Regions from separate parts of the Homo sapiens genome. Here region 1 is linked to region 2. Evidence: promoter capture Hi-C in human tissues and cell types (Jung and others, 2019). All regions are on one chromosome and are shown on one strand. The core of a region is centred on a gene start or on the middle of the fragment in contact, and the rest is flanking DNA. Distances in the headings are between cores, read along the strand shown.

What was found. The method cuts DNA at HindIII sites, captures the fragments that hold promoters and counts their contacts. A contact is called where the count stands out against the background at its distance.
Region 1: a contact is called between a fragment that was not itself captured here and the fragment with the promoter of CDH4 in region 2, in 1 of the 25 tissues and cell types used here (dorsolateral prefrontal cortex).

Annotation. Positions count from the first base shown.
Region 1 is chr20:61,873,782-61,878,732 of GRCh38, forward strand. It overlaps CDH4 (cadherin 4), which reads left to right. Exons shown (of 16, transcript NM_001794.5): 7 at 1-119. Among named protein-coding and RNA genes, the nearest start is that of MIR1257, 77 kb to the right of the region's middle. RefSeq lists an enhancer at 4,829-4,951. The HindIII fragment of the contact is 6,175 bases long and covers 226-4,951 here.
Region 2 is chr20:61,249,083-61,253,801 of GRCh38, forward strand. CDH4 (cadherin 4) reads left to right here and starts at 3,179. Exons shown (of 16, transcript NM_001794.5): 1 at 3,179-3,488. The coding sequence starts at 3,432. The HindIII fragment of the contact is 10,940 bases long and covers 1-4,719 here.

The DNA of each region.
Region 1 (4,951 bases), core at 2,063-4,562, 620 kb after region 2:
ACGGGATGGTGCGGTACCGGATCGTGACCCAGACCCCACAGAGCCCGTCCCAGAATATGTTCACCATCAACAGCGAGACTGGAGATATCGTCACAGTGGCGGCTGGCCTGGACCGAGAGGTGAGGCGGGGTGGGGTCTGCGTGCAGGCGGGTGAGCTCCTGGTCCCCGCAGGACACCCACAGGACCCTCGGGGAGCCTCTCCAGTGGCGCCGTCGGGGAGTGATCGACAGTCTCCCCAGTGGCACTCTCTTGCCATGGGAGAGACTCAGCAAAGGAGGCTCTGGAGCACTCAGCACCGGCTGCTATGAGCGAGTCCTTGTGAGATTTCCAGAACAGGCCCAGCTGGTGCGTGTGGCTATGGGCGGAGGCCTCAGAAAAGCAGGGACCACCCGCTGGGGTCTCGGGGTCTAGCCGCAGCTGCACTCGGGGTCTGGGGTGCTCTGACAGCCCCTCTCAGGACCTGAACACACACGCCTGCCTTGAAACCCACCCCTTCTGGGCCTGGCACCTCCAAGGAGACCCACCCCACCCAGGCTGCGGCGGCCTGGCTGTGACGAAGGGGGCATGGAGAAGCAGTGCTTTTCACACAGCCTGAAACCATCACAGCCAAATGAATGGGCTGCTGGTTGGTGCTGGGTTCCATGCGCTCCCACCTCCTGCACTGTCCTGCGGTCCTACGAGGCTTTTGTGACAGAGGCCTCCCTCCACCCCTTCATCTCAAGTGCCCGCCCCACTCAGAGACAGACCCCAGAGGGAGGCCCTGGGCGGTGGGTGAGGTCGGGGGCCTGCCTCTGCTCTGAAGCTTGTCAAGTGCAGGCGCATCTCCAGCACTGGGCTGTGCGTTCCCAGAAGATTCACCACCCGCCCCTGGGGCTGAAAGCGCCCCACCAGCAGCACCTTGAGTCCCCAGGTGCCCAGGACAGGGCATCGCCTGCCTTCCCCATCTCCAGGTCTCGCTGTCTGGTCTCCTGTTTGCACTGTGCCCACAGAGGCCAGTGTCATTCCAGACGTAATTTACCCTCTGAGGCATTTGGCTCCCAGGAGCCGGTAGAGCCACCTCGCTGGGCTCACAGCCAGTGCAGCCCTGCCCGCGGGAGGCTTGTTTCCAGAGGCCACAGCGCCACTTTCTGGCAGCTCCTCGGTCTTGCTGGCCTCAACCCTTCTGCTCCAAGTTGGCGGCTTCTGAGTGCGTCACGGCCCTCGAGCTCTGGGTGTGCGGGGACCCCACTGCAAGCTGGGGCTGCCAACCTGTCACCGGGGCTTGCTGGTGTCGCTTTTGGGGCCGGGACTGGCAAGGAAGTGGCAGGTCCTCCTTCCAGGTTTGGGGCTGTGGGACCCCCCGGGGCCTCCAGTTTCTGCCTCTTCTCCAAAAACCAAGACTCACCTGCAGTGCTGTCTTCATCCCCGCCTTTCAAATCAACCAAAGCCAAGCTGCAGCCTGGAAAATCCCACCCGTCTCTGTCCCTGGGAAGAGCACAAAGGGGATTTCCTGGAAATTCCTAAATCGTAAGGGGGTGGTGCCCAGGGTAACACATGGGGGCAGAGAGGCCAGTTGGGGGGTAACCCTTGGCAGCCATGCGGCTTGCGGGGAAGGCGAGGTGGCCGCCGGGTTCAGCACGGGCTCAGGACTCAGACCCGCACAGCAGAGGACGTTGTCAGCCCCAGCCGTGGCACCTTTCATCTGAGAGACAGAAGGATGATGACAGCCTTGGACTCCAAGGATCAGAGATGGAGTCGTGTGGCAGGCAGCGTGAGGGCTGGCACGGATGGCACAGGCGAGGACTTTTGATGCAGGATTTACATAAACGTTCTTAGAGTGATGTTGGCCAGAATGCCTGGGGCTCCGAGTGAGCTGTGGTCAGTCCCAGCACCTTCACCTCAGGACTGCAGGATCCGCTGAGGCCCCACCGCCCTCCAGTGGCCATGAACCAGCGCCCGCTCCGCTCAGACAAGGCTTTGCAGATGAGCTGCACCTGGCCCTGGTCCCGTCATTCAGCTAGGGAGATGATCCCATGGGCACATGGCCGAGTCAGGAGTGCTGTTAGTGAGGCCCATACAGATGTACAGGAACCAGATACCGTCCCCCATCTCCTCTGTAGCCTGGGGTCCCCCGCCTGCCCTGGGGAGAGAGGGCAGCCCCTGTTTGCGCTCCCCCAACACACACACACACACACACCTGTGAGCAGCTCGTTTCCACAGGCTGGCACCTCTCTGGGACGTTTGCACAGCTTTTGGCAGAGCAGGTGGTCTGACTGGAGCGTGTGCGTGCAAGCCCCTGTCCACACACTCCCACACACGTGATGCTCCAGAGGTACAGATGGGATGGCACGGCTGCCGGCTGTGTCCAAGGAGAGGACAGGACAGCCGAGCAAGGGTCAGGCCTGTGAGCGCCGGCACCTCTGGGATGGCCCCTTGCAGGGGCAGGGTCAGGGGTTACCTAGAGCCCACAGACTGCCCCACCTGCGTGCCATCAGCTCCTGGTGTGTGACGGGGAAAGCACAGGGGCCAAAAGGGCAGTGGGGATGCTTAGGGAGATCCGATGGGGCCTCGCCGTCCAGTCCCAGTGCAGGGGCATGGCTGGCTGCATGCTGGCCGCAGGAAACCGTTCTCTCCCTACTCTATATCGGCCGCGAGAGAGCAACGTCCAATTGGAGAGGCAGCTGGTTCTACTGAGCGACCGGAGAACTGGGAAGGGGAAGGTGTGGGAGTTTCACGGGATTGGGTGCCTGCAGGGGAGGCATGCAGGCGTGCGGAGGGTTCTAGACGTGCAGACGCAGTCCATGAACACATCTCTTCTTACATCTGGTGTACAACATGGCAGCAGTCTTCCCTTAGGGCCGGGGTTTTCGTATTATAATGATAAGCTGGGGATCTAAAGGGGACCATAGGCCACCTGCTCTGGCCTGCACTGGTTTCGTGTCGGTCCGCCCTCCCTCTGGTTTCCAGTGGGGTTGAGGGGGTCCCTGTGGCTTCAGGACCATCTGGTCTCCTTCAGCACGAATGTCTATAGATAAAGGGACTAAAGACAAACAGCTAAAGCTTTCCCACTGCCGGGTGGAGGGCTGGGAGGTCTGGGGTACTTTGTAGTTTATATTGTAGGAAAGAATATGTGATATTTTCCAGGCTGAAAATATATCTAGGCAACATCTGTGGACCCCTCTTCATAGCTGAAAATCTCACAAGGCCCCGGCAGTTAGTATGGGTGCAGGCTCTGACCTTGGGAGGGATCAAGAGCGCCACGGAGCCCACGACCCCCTGGGGTTCCCCCAGCTGGCCTGGTGCACCCTACGGGAGGGACACCCCCTGGCCTCCCTGGGCCAGGCATTCCTGTGGGCATGTCAAGGCCCGTGATAGGGACAGTGCCCAGCCTCCTGGGCTCAGCTCCCCCTGCCCCTACAGATCATGGCAGCTCGGCCAAGGGAGGGCTAGCAGTCCCAGCCACCCAGAGATCTCCCCACCCACTGGCCAGGCCCCAGTGAGGCTGACCCGGCAGCTGGACCCCCTGCCCAGGCCAGACACCGAGGCAAGGCGGGGCCAGCCTGCTCCCCAAGGCCCACAGCAGACACAGAGCGGTACCCACCCCCCACCCCCCACCCCCCGCTGTCGGCAGCTTCAGCGTGGCCTGCAAAATGTTCCACATAAAATGCTCATTTAAAAGCCATTAGAGGTGTGGTTGACAGACGGAGATTTATGAAGATTGAGGAACATGAGGAGACGCTGGTGTTGCGGGCGCTGGCGTTCTCCGCTGTGTGTGCCTGGGGATGTGAACAGCCCGGCTTCTATCCGACGGGAGGCCCCGTCTGGTGCATCTCAGGCGTGGTGTGCTGGAGAGGGCGGTCCCGTGTCTTCCTCTTCCAGGGCTCGTCGGGAACATAGGTTGTGTGGTTATTTTCCTTGATGATCCTTCAGCTGCTAACATTCGATTCCAGGAAGATCAGTTTCTGTCTTGTGCGTGTGAAACAAGCTGGTTGATGCAGTGAAACCTGGGACCCCCATGTGGACCAGCATCGTGGGGGGACAGCAGAGCCATGGTTCAGGGGCTCAGGGGACGGTCATGGGGCTGGACTTTGGGGCCATGACCCCCGGAACGTCCCTGGGGTCCATTGTGTGACAACGCGTCTTTGGCTGGGAGGACCCCCAGGCAGGGGATGAGGTGTAACCCAAATGAGGCCCGGCCCCAAGCAGACTGTGACAGGGTCATCACCAGGAACCACGGGGGCCCCAGAGGGAGGACTTCGTGGACACAGACGGGCGTGGTCATCCCAGAGAGGACAACAGGCCCTGGCCTGCGTGAGTGGCCAGGAGCTGAGCTGTAGGCCTGGGGCAGCTGGGGCAAAGCTAAGGCCCCATCGTGGCCATGGCGTCCTCATTTCCAGCCACGATCAAAACAAGACCTTCATGGGCAGCACGTGCCCGGCAGCAGGACCCCTCCCACCTTCTGTTCCCCCTGCCCCTTTCAAACCGAGCCCAAGCCTAGGAACATCCAGGTCCCTGAGCTGCTCCCTCCCCAGGTTCAATGCAGCCCCCGGCTGGAAGGTGGCTGTGGGTCTTGAATCTGAGACAGACCCAGGCGTGGCCTGCAGCTGGCTCCATTTGGGTACAGAGACAGTGTTGGGCGCCCTCAGGGCTTCTCGTGAGCAGAACCAAAGGTGTTCATGTCATTTCCACGTTATTTTCCTTGTGCAAACAAGTCTGTTTCCCCTTCTAAAGGCACCAGCTCGAGGGCTTCCATTAGGGAAGCTGCCTCCAGCACGCAGCAGCCATGTCCCAGGGCCCCCGCCTGGCCCCAGGTCTTCAGCAGCCCCTCCCAGTGGGGACATTGAGGCGGGCTTCCCTCCCCAGACATGGAGAGGTCATCCCCTTGGGCCAGTCTCTGCAGCAGTTTATGGCATAGTCTCAAAGTCGTAGGTGACCTCTGAATTTGTGACCCCTTGGCCGGAGGAGACGCAGG
Region 2 (4,719 bases), core at 1,929-4,428:
TCTGTACAAAACAGCCTTTTTGTCGAACATTGAAGTGTCTACAATAATAACTATCAATAGGGAAGGAAACAAATTAACATCCAACGAATATAGGGAAATGTGGCCCTGATACAAGCACTTGGTTTTTGCTTCTAAAGAGGAACCCCTTCCCAGACTCACCTCATCGAGAGGGAGACAGAGAAGTCTATCAAGCTTAGCAAACATCTGTAGTCCAATTACTGTCAACAGTTTACAGGTGTTGAGAGCAAACAGTCACTTATACACTACCTCCCAAATGCATTCTCTTAATCTCTCTTAGAAACAAACGCACACATTTTTCTAGGGCTCTTTATCCAAAGTGCAGAGAGACTAGCTCCTCCTCCAGGCCAGCTGTGGTCTTCCCTGCACTGGGTGGACCAAAGGCAGGCCACAGTCCCACTGGCCAATGTGCCAAACACTGTGCCAGGGTTTCTCCAGCTACCCCAGGCAGAGGCCCAGGCTCCACCCCTGGAGGTCCAGGTTCTGGAAATCCAGGGTGGGGCATAGGAGAGAGCATTTTTCTGATGCTTCCAGCTGCTGCTCTGTTACGTGGGACATACTGTCTGTGGGACAGGCCGTGATTCTCAAATGCTAGTGGCATGAGCATGGACTGGAGAGATTGTTACAAGGTCAGCTTCCAGGCCCCACTTGCAAAAGCTCCAAGTCCATGGATTTCAGGTGGAGCCTAGGAACTGGCATTTTTCATGAGTTTCTCTGTGATTTTGTTGCAGATGATTGCAGACCAGAGGTGGGCGTGGCGGGGAATCCCATCAGCATTCAGAATCAATGTAGCAGGTCTGGGGTAAGGCCTGAGTTTCTGCATTTTTAACAAGCTCCTGGGGGATCTTGATGCTGCTGGTCTGGGGACCACACTCAGAGTGACAGGCTGAAGACCATTCTTTGGAGGCACTGCTTTGTATTTTAGGTCATATTTTTCTTTTCTGTCTCAGCAATCTTTGCTGCTGCATTCAGAGTAAGTCTGATAAACCAATGCTCTCTACTGGACTCCTGTCAGTTACTGCAGTGTTTCTGAAACTATGTATTTCGGAAAATGCGAGTTCCCGTAAGACATTACAGCTGTGTAAGAAGGTTTCTTTGAACAAAGTTGGGGCCATGCTGCGTGTGCCAGGGTCCCAGCTCTGGGTGAGAATGCTGGCACTGCAGCTTTCCCCGTGCCTGCCCTCTGCACCCTCCTCTGCCTGACTGTATAGTGGAGTTAGAAGGACTCCAAGAGCAACTTTACATAAAGCTCCTACACATGTCCCTGGCACATAGCTAGCACCTTGTAAGGACAGGCTATTGTCAAACTCTACCCTTTCTGGAAATCACGCTGCAGTAGACTCAAGATTCATTCAGTAGTAGAGGGAGATGTGCTTAACACAGTGTTTGGAGTTCAGGACCCACCTGCTCCTGGACCCCAGTCTCCCTGCCACACACTCATACCTTTTCTTTTTCAAATTGGCGCGCTCCTCAGCGCTTCAACAGTTTCGCAGAGCACGTTGGAGCAAATGCGGGGGTCTGTGATGCCTCTCCAAAGAAATAACTCGCATAATGCTCAGGCCTCCTGCAGACAAAGGTGTATCCCCAGCGACAGATATTTTAAGAAAATAGACCAGGGACACAAGACAAGAGAGCTGTCTTGGTGTCTAAAGCAGTCTTGGACAGCTTCTGATGTCGCTCGAGCAGTGGTGAAGCACCTTGAATAAGGAGGAAAGCAGAGGGGGCGTCTTCCCAAAGGACGGGCACATGGCCGAGGAATGGAATTCTCTGTCCATGAGGATTTTGGATGGATCTGTTCATGAAACCTCACTGGCTACGCAGGACCTTCGAGTGAGTCTAAACCTCCAGCCATGTCAACTGGTAACCTCTCCTTCTTCGGCTAGGTGGGGAGTGGGACAAGGCCATAACTGATAGGAGTCCAGGCTGGGGCAGATTTTGTGTCTCCTGACTAGTTCCATAGTTAAGTTGCAAAACCGAATCTCGCCTTGTGCTCTCGGATGTAGTGCTTACTCTGGTCCTCTGGGGTTATCTAAAATCTGGTTTCCTTAAGCGTAAGGCAGAGCTCTAACCGGGAGACCACCCTGCCCCCAAGGGTGGGGGTTCTGGGAGGGAGAGAGGGAAGCGGCTGCTCTGTAGCTTTCTCTACTGGCTTGCCCAAGTGGACTCTGATCTTGGAGCTCAACAGTGTCACTCAATCTTCCACCCTCTCCTTTGCAACCTATTTCTTAAACCAGAACTAATGTATTCTGGACACAGAGTCCCTGAAACCCCAGACAAAGAAAATTCGATGTATCTGAACAAACAAAACCGCGTTTCTTTAAATCTCCAAGCCAAAAGGAAAAGTGCAGAAACATTTACTCACTGTCCGACCTGTACATATATTTTACCTGATAACCCTTAAAGAAGTGCCCCCCAGTTCAGCCATCACCCATGCAGGGCAAAGGGAGCTGGAGCTGGCCCAGCCTGTCGGCGCAGACACTCCTGACAGCTCCTGTCTGGGCACTTCTTTCTTTCTTGGAGCTTCTAATTTCTTTCTTGGCTTCTGAGGCCTAACAGGGTGTTTTGATGCACACACAGGAATTACTACCGTCCCCAATCCTAGGGTACATCCCTAGCCCAGGCCAGGGCTTTGAGTTTTCCTAGGAGCGGGAGGGTCTGCAAAGCCCCACAGGCTGAAATCTCAGCGTGGCCCTCTGCTCATCTGCTCCAGGTGGAAACTCTCACCCCTGAGCTGCCCGACCTGGGTTCAAGCCCGGGTCAGGGGAGTTAGCAAGGAGACACCTGAAAAATAAAAGGACAGAATGGAAGTGCACACTCCCACCGCGGGCCCGGGCGGGAAGTCGGACTAAGACCGCGGCGGGACCGCCCCATCCAGAAAGGGTGCCCCGGGTGTGGGGGCGGAAACCCCAGCGCTGTCTTCAGTCTCCACACCCGCGCCTTTTTCCCCTGGAAAACGAGCGTCCTTGGCCTCTTCGGCCGCAACCGGGCGGCTCCAGACGTCCAGGAGGGCAGAGGCTGGGCTGGTGCGGCGCGGGGGGCGCGGGCGCGGGCTCTGCGCCTTTAAGGCCCGCGTCGGCAGAGCGAGCGCAGGGGCCGGGCGGCGGGGCGGGGCCTCGGCGGGGCGGCCGCGGCTTCACCTGCAGCTCCGAGCGCGCGGAACAGAGGCGCGGGCGGCTGCGAGGCCGGCGGACGCACCGGCCCGAGGGAACGCGCCGCCGGCCGGACTTGGCCTGGCTCCCGGAGCCGGGGCGGCGAGCGCGGCGGGCGCAGCGGGGCTGGAGGCTCCGGGCAGGCGCGGGGGAGCGGCGGCGGCGGCGGCGATCGGAGCGGCGGCGGTGGTCTCGGCGGCGGCGGCGGCGGCGGCGGCAGGGAGCGGGCTCCCGGTGCCGGGCACCGGGCGGGCGGCGGGGAAGATGACCGCGGGCGCCGGCGTGCTCCTTCTGCTGCTCTCGCTCTCCGGCGCGCTCCGGGTAAGTTGCCGCCTCCCGCCCCCGCCGTTCGGAAGCCCCGGGCAGCGGGAGGTCGTCCCCGGATCCCGCGGGGCGCTCACACACCCGGCGGGGCTCTCCCGGGCTCCCCCGCCGCGCTCCCCGCTGCATCCAGCCCGGCGCCCGCGCTCGGCGAAGCTGCCTGCGGTCGGCAGGAGCGGGAAGCCGCCTGGGCAGCGGGGAGCGGCGGAGCAGGGTGGGAGTGGGGCTCGGTGGAGGACCCGGGGAGCTCCGCCTGCACCGGACCCGCCGAGCCTCCCTCGAACGCCCAAAGCCCGTAGCCGCTACCCGGAGCTCGGCTTGCCTGCATGGGGCAGGCTTCCACTGGCGGAGCCGGCGCGCCCTCCATCGCCCGGGAGCCGCGCGCCGCGGGAGTTGCCGAGCCCAGCCCCGGCCGTGGCTGAAGGCGTGGGGCGCCCGGCGGCTGCGGGCCAGGGATCCGCGAGTGCGGGGCGCCTGCCCGACCTCTCCTGCCCAAGGCCTGGGGGTCCGTCTAGCGGCGCCGCTCAGTTCTGTGGGTGCCGGCAGGACCCGCGCTGCGGGTGGGCGGCGGGGTAGGACTGCGGGGCACTCTCACCCCCGAGCCCTCGGCGGGGCTGGAGCCTGCGTGTCCGGCGGGGCCCCGGGGGCTGGGAGCTGGGCCGGGCTTGGGCCGGGAAGCCGGACGCCGGGCGGGCGCGGCGCGGGAGGGCGCCCCGGGAGGGCGAGCGGGTCTCCCGCTGCCTCTGCAGAGCCCCGCGGGCCGGATTGCCAGCTTTGCTCTGCGCCTGGCGAGGTGCGCGGCCCGCGGGGGCAGAGAGCGCGGCGGCTCCGGGGGCGCCCCTGGGCGGAGGCGGAGGGGCGGCGGGAGTTGCAGGAACCCCCTCTCGTGGCCGATCGGCCTCGCTGCCTTCTCCCGGGCAGCGCTGTTGTAACCTCGGAAATAAACAAGTGCCAGCGGCGGGAGGCCCGCTCCGAGGCCGCGGGGCGCTGGGGGACGCGCTGGGCACACGCTTCGGGCGGGCGGAAACTTTCCTGGGCGAGTTGAGCCTCCCACCGGGCTGCGGGTGCGATTTGGAGCTTCGTGGCCGATGAAGAAAGCCGCGGTTTAGAGCTTTTCGTAAGGAATGACCCTGCGTCCCGCTCTCCTCCCTCGGTGCTGGGGGTAGAGGGGCGCCCTCCGCGGTGCCGGCGTCGGGAAGCCTGGAGCTCCGGGCTGGGGGCGGCCTCCGGA